Linked DNA regions of Homo sapiens: region 2 is linked to region 1. The links are contacts of gene promoters, found by promoter capture Hi-C in human tissues and cell types (Jung and others, 2019). All regions are on one chromosome and are shown on one strand. The core of a region is centred on a gene start or on the middle of the fragment in contact, and the rest is flanking DNA. Distances in the headings are between cores, read along the strand shown. Region 1 holds the start of OR1L1 (olfactory receptor family 1 subfamily L member 1). Region 2 holds the start of OR1L4 (olfactory receptor family 1 subfamily L member 4).

Region 1 (2,973 bases), core at 29-2,528:
GCTTGTTTTCTGCTGTCTTCTCCATCTGAACTCCAGGGACTTCTTGATGATCTCAAAGGATGCTCCCTTGACAGAGGGTGGGGTCTATGAGTGTCTTTAATCTCTTCAGCATGTGGGAGGCCCAGAGGAGGAAGAGAGGAAAATCTTCAGCTTCATGAGGGTTGAAAGCTTGTCTAGAATCAGGTGCCTTCTCTGTGTGGTTTTTTGGGGAAGCATATATATAACTGAGACTGGAATTGGGAAAAGAATTACACCAACACAGACAAGCATGCACTAACAATGACGATTTTAGCATTTAGGGGCTGGATAACAAAAATGAGGTTTATGTTACATTAAAAGAAATGTTGGCCGGGTGCGGTGACTAATGCCTGTAATCCCACCACTTTGGAAGGCCAAGGTGGGCGGATCACTTGAGATCAGGAGTTCGTGACCAGCCTGGCCAACATGGTGAAACCCCATCTCTACTAAAAATACAAAAATTAGCTGGGTGTGGTGGCACAAGCCTGTAATCCCAGCTACTCAGGAGGCTAAGGGGGGAGAATCGCTTGAACCCAGGAGGCAGAGGTTGCAGTGAGCTAAGATTGTGCCACTGCACTCCAGCCTGGGTGACAAAGCAAGACCTTGTCTCAAAAAAAAAAAAATAAGGAAAAGAAATGTTTTTACTATCCTGTTATTTCTGTCTATCTTTTGCCTCTTCATACCTATCCTTTCACTCAAATAAGGTTTCACTAAAAAATGAGGGAAATGGAGTAACTGTTGGGTAATCTCATATTTCAATGTCTTTTTACATGATTGCCAGCCTCCAGAATAACTGATGCAGACAGAAGTATCCGAACTAAGGGAAATCATTATTCCATCAGCTGGAAATTGAGAGATGAAACTTTTTTAAACCTGTCATAAACTAATTACTGAAAACCGTGAATACGATAAATATATACAGAAAAAGAAGAGAATAATTTCTCCAGGATTCCCCTCCTCTCCTTCTGGGAATTCTCTTGCACTCACTCCTTCCTCTTGCCCTATATCTCTTCTTTTCTCTTTTTCCCATTTCTGTTTCCCTGTAATTTGTTTCTTTATAGCAGGCAACTGAGATTAAAATATATATTAATTTCTAAATATCCCACATTAATGGAAAGAAACCACAATCCAGATAATTGTAATGTTTTAAATTTTTTCTTTGCTGATAAGAAGAATAAAAGGAGAAATTTTGGACAGATTGTATCAGATGTTGGAAGAATCTGTTACAGTGTTAGTTTATCTTTAGGTGAACCCACAACTATGGGAAGAAATAACCTAACAAGACCCTCTGAATTCATCCTCCTTGGACTCTCCTCTCGACCTGAGGATCAGAAGCCGCTCTTTGCTGTGTTCCTCCCCATCTACCTTATCACAGTGATAGGAAACCTGCTTATCATCCTGGCCATCCGCTCAGACACTCGTCTCCAGACGCCCATGTACTTCTTTCTAAGCATCCTGTCTTTTGTTGACATTTGCTATGTGACAGTCATTATCCCTAAGATGCTGGTGAACTTCTTATCAGAGACAAAGACCATCTCTTACAGTGAGTGTCTGACCCAGATGTACTTTTTCTTAGCCTTTGGAAACACAGACAGTTACCTGCTAGCAGCCATGGCCATTGACCGCTATGTGGCCATATGTAATCCCTTCCACTACATCACCATTATGAGTCACAGATGCTGTGTCCTGCTTCTGGTTCTCTCCTTCTGCATTCCACATTTTCACTCCCTCCTGCACATTCTTCTGACTAATCAGCTCATCTTCTGTGCCTCAAATGTCATCCATCACTTTTTCTGCGATGATCAACCAGTGCTAAAATTGTCCTGTTCCTCCCATTTTGTCAAAGAAATCACAGTAATGACAGAAGGCTTGGCTGTCATAATGACCCCGTTTTCATGCATCATCATCTCTTATTTAAGAATCCTCATCACTGTTCTGAAGATTCCTTCAGCTGCTGGAAAGCGTAAAGCATTTTCTACCTGTGGCTCTCATCTCACAGTGGTGACCCTGTTTTATGGAAGCATTAGCTATCTCTATTTTCAGCCCCTGTCCAACTATACTGTCAAGGATCAAATAGCAACAATTATCTACACCGTACTGACTCCTATGCTAAATCCATTTATCTATAGTCTGAGGAACAAAGACATGAAGCAGGGTTTGGCAAAGTTGATGCACAGGATGAAATGTCAGTAAAAGACCTAAGGTCTTAAGAGAATACCACAGATCTCTTGCCCTGGACTATAGGTTATTAATGGGTATGTGATTCTGAAATGATTATTAGATTCTGAAAGGATAGTACCTTCAATGATGGTGTTTCATTCCTTACAGAAGAATGTTTATTGCATGTATTGAAGCTACTCCTGAATATAATGCCTACAAACTAAGTTGGATCACTGTAATCTCCTGAGTATCCCTATTCATGCAGCTGGGTTTTCTTGTATAGTAATGTAAAGCTGCTTGAATGTCTTTGAGCTACTCTGTGTGTGTGTGCGTGCGTGTGTGCATGTGTGTGTGTATGTGTGTGTGTGTCGCTTCATCATATTAGCCCAGGGGCTCCTCAATAACGAGGTCTCTCTCTTTCTCCCATTATAAATGTCAGAACTGTGACTCCTTCCTCTGCATTTCCTCAAAGATTAAAGCCTGGCTTCTATAGTTGTCATAGTCTCAACAAATAAAATCATCCCACTAGATAACTCTTAGTGAATCAGTGCCAGGTCAGGTTCCTAAGAGTATGGCATCTCAGTATTCTTCCTGCTTCCCACCTGGCAAAGCTGACTGTACCTTAAATCTCTCATTAATTTCATTTGACCCAAACTCAACTGCACTGTTTTCCCGGGAGGTATGTGTTAGGTCCCAGTAACCTTAGTAGCAGATGCCTCCAACTGCTGGGGCAGTTCTCTTCCTTAACAGACTTTGAAGACAGTCTTCCAACCAGAAAAACAAATTGGGTAGGAA
Region 2 (3,337 bases), core at 490-2,989, 62 kb after region 1:
AAGGTCTATTTTCCTTTGGATATGATCCCCAAAAATGTAGTGCCAATCTGATAACTTATTTTTATTTGTGAGTTACAAAGAAGTTTAGGCTTATTTTTTCCCAAATGTTCCAGTTGTCATAAATAGCATTTATTTTATAGCCCATTCTTTTTCCATTGCTATGAAATAAATCTTTATTATATGTTAAGTTTAATATAGATCATGATCTAAATATAGGCATATAGATATACAAAATGCTTTATATTGGTCAGTTTTTTATTTTTCCCTATGTGTGTCATTATCTTATTGATTATCAATATACTGTGCTTTTATGTGGGGTTAAAAAAGTTTCCCATCATTATTCTAATGTTTCCAAAATAATGTTGTCTGTCTCTAGCCATGTAATACTCTAGATGAATTTTAGAATAATCTTTTCAACTTCCATTAAAAATTCCCTTCAGGTCTTATTAGAAGTACACTGAATTTTATTAATAAGGATTCATATTTTAAAATATAGTCTTCCTTTTCAGGAGTATAGTTCTCCACATATTCAGATATTCATTTTGTGTTCTATTATAGTTTCTTCTGATAGGTCTTACTCATTCTTTTATTTTGTCCCTCAGGTTAATTTCTAAGTATCACTTAGACTTTCTTGCCATTATCAATTGAAACCTTTTCTTCATTACATTTGTCTAATACAGAAAGATAATTAATACTTTTAGTTTTATAGCGCATCTGGCCACTGGTGAAATTGCCATAGGTTTTAAAAGATTTTCAAATAATTATCTTGAATTTTTTGGTACACAATCGTGCCACAAAAAAATGACATTTTCTTCTTTTTTAATGTTTATGCCTCCTGATGCTTTAGTTTTGCTTTGTTACTCACTCAGTCAACCATCTCAGCAATGTAGCTTAATATTGGTCATAGGGCTATCTTTGCCTTCTCTTTCCATGATATTGGTGGAAATAGGACTCTTACAGTCTATGTTTTATAGTCCTGCAATATTTGAATGTTGAGAATGAGGACTTCATAGTGTTTTAACCAGAAAAATTAATATATTCAAAGAACTAATCTTGCTTACATAGGCTATTTCTGGGAGTACTCTAATTTTAACTGGTATCCTTGGGCCAAAAGATGATAAAGCATCAGATCATATTAGCCAAAGAGAAATGCTTAAATAAACATTAGAAATGTTTTTCTGAAGATGAAAGAAAGTATTATCTGAATTCTGCAATTACCAAGGAGCCTTGATTAATTCTGTTGCTTAGTTTTGTTCTATCCCAACTACTACTACCATCTATGGACCTATGAGCAAGAGAGAATGCTGAAAGAGATAACTTCATTCATAGGGATTCCTTGTATGACAGCATTCTAATTCTAAGTAGAATCCAGCAACCTCTTCCCCGGGACAAAAAAGACAATAATAAGACTAAGGAGATGGTCAAGAAACAACCTCAGAATAATCTTTACAAAAGGAAATGAGAAGAACTCAAACAAATTAGGCCACATAGAAGTTCCTATGAGCACATGGAAAACCTTTAGTTTCTAATTTAGAAGACAGCTTGGCATCCTTTAACTTTTCTTTTGTTGAATTTTACTATCTGTTTCTATGTAGTTTCAGAATTAAATGTTCTTTCGAAGTATAATAGCAGTAAGATTTTTAAAATAGATTTGAGGTGGGGAAGAAGCTGTCTTGGTCAAACTGTCCTTTACATCTCTCCCATTGCTTCTCTAAACCCTATCCAGGAAGTCCAGAGACATGGAGACAAAGAATTATAGCAGCAGCACCTCAGGCTTCATCCTCCTGGGCCTCTCTTCCAACCCTAAGCTGCAGAAACCTCTCTTTGCCATCTTCCTCATCATGTACCTACTCACTGCGGTGGGGAATGTGCTCATCATCCTGGCCATCTACTCTGACCCCAGGCTCCACACCCCTATGTACTTTTTTCTCAGCAACTTGTCTTTCATGGATATCTGCTTCACAACAGTCATAGTGCCTAAGATGCTGGTGAATTTTCTATCAGAGACAAAGATTATCTCTTATGTGGGCTGCCTGATCCAGATGTACTTCTTCATGGCATTTGGGAACACTGACAGCTACCTGCTGGCCTCTATGGCCATCGACCGGCTGGTGGCCATCTGCAACCCCTTACACTATGATGTGGTTATGAAACCATGGCATTGCCTACTCATGCTATTGGGTTCTTGCAGCATCTCCCACCTACATTCCCTGTTCCGCGTGCTACTTATGTCTCGCTTGTCTTTCTGTGCCTCTCACATCATTAAGCACTTTTTCTGTGACACCCAGCCTGTGCTAAAGCTCTCCTGCTCTGACACATCCTCCAGCCAGATGGTGGTGATGACTGAGACCTTAGCTGTCATTGTGACCCCCTTCCTGTGTACCATCTTCTCCTACCTGCAAATCATCGTCACTGTGCTCAGAATCCCCTCTGCAGCCGGGAAGTGGAAGGCCTTCTCTACCTGTGGCTCCCACCTCACTGTAGTGGTCCTGTTCTATGGGAGTGTCATCTATGTCTATTTTAGGCCTCTGTCCATGTACTCAGTGATGAAGGGCCGGGTAGCCACAGTTATGTACACAGTAGTGACACCCATGCTGAACCCTTTCATCTACAGCCTGAGGAACAAAGATATGAAAAGGGGTTTGAAGAAATTAAGACACAGAATTTACTCATAGAAAGAACAAAATGTTGGCATGTCAAAATCAGGACATGACCTAAAAGATTATTATCAGTTTATCCTCCCTTCCTAACCCTTTTCCACATGGCATTCAAAGAGGTCATGAAAAGTGGTGTTGGATATCAGTAAGAGAATTAACCTGGGAGCAAAACACTCAGTTTCTTTATATATATATATATATATATGTATACACACACACACATATATATATACACACATACTTTAAGTTCTGGGATACATGTGCAGAACGTGCAGGTTCATTACATAGGTATACACGTGCCATGGTGGTTTGCTGCACCCATCAACCTGTCATCTACATTAGGTATTTCTCCTAATGCAATCCTTCTCCTAGCTCCCCACCCCCTGGCAGGCCCCAGTGTGTGATGTTCCCCTCCCTTTGTCCGTGTGTTCTCATTGTTCAACTCCCACTTATGAGTGAGAACATGTGGTGTTTGGTTTTCTGTTCTTGAGTTAGTTTGCTGAGAATGATGGCTTCCAGGTTCATCCATGTCCCTGCAAAGCACATGAACTCATCCTTTTTTTAATGGCTGGATAGTATTACATGGTGTATATGTGCCAGATTTTCTTTATCCAGTCTATCATTGATGGGCATTTGGGTTGGTTCCAAGTCTTTGCTATTGTGAATAGTGCCACAATAAA

What was found. Contacts are between HindIII fragments. The study calls those that stand out against the background at their distance.
Region 2: a contact is called between the fragment with the promoter of OR1L4 here and the fragment with the promoter of OR1L1 in region 1, in 1 of the 25 tissues and cell types used here (mesendoderm cells).

What each region holds. Positions count from the first base shown.
Region 1 is chr9:122,660,438-122,663,410 of GRCh38, forward strand. OR1L1 (olfactory receptor family 1 subfamily L member 1) reads left to right here and starts at 1,279. Exons shown (of 1, transcript NM_001005236.3): 1 at 1,279-2,211. The coding sequence starts at 1,279. The coding sequence ends at 2,211. The HindIII fragment of the contact is 8,013 bases long and covers 1-2,973 here.
Region 2 is chr9:122,722,251-122,725,587 of GRCh38, forward strand. It overlaps OR1L4 (olfactory receptor family 1 subfamily L member 4), which reads left to right and starts at 1,740. Exons shown (of 1, transcript NM_001005235.1): 1 at 1,740-2,675. The coding sequence starts at 1,740. The coding sequence ends at 2,675. The HindIII fragment of the contact is 15,967 bases long and covers 1-3,337 here.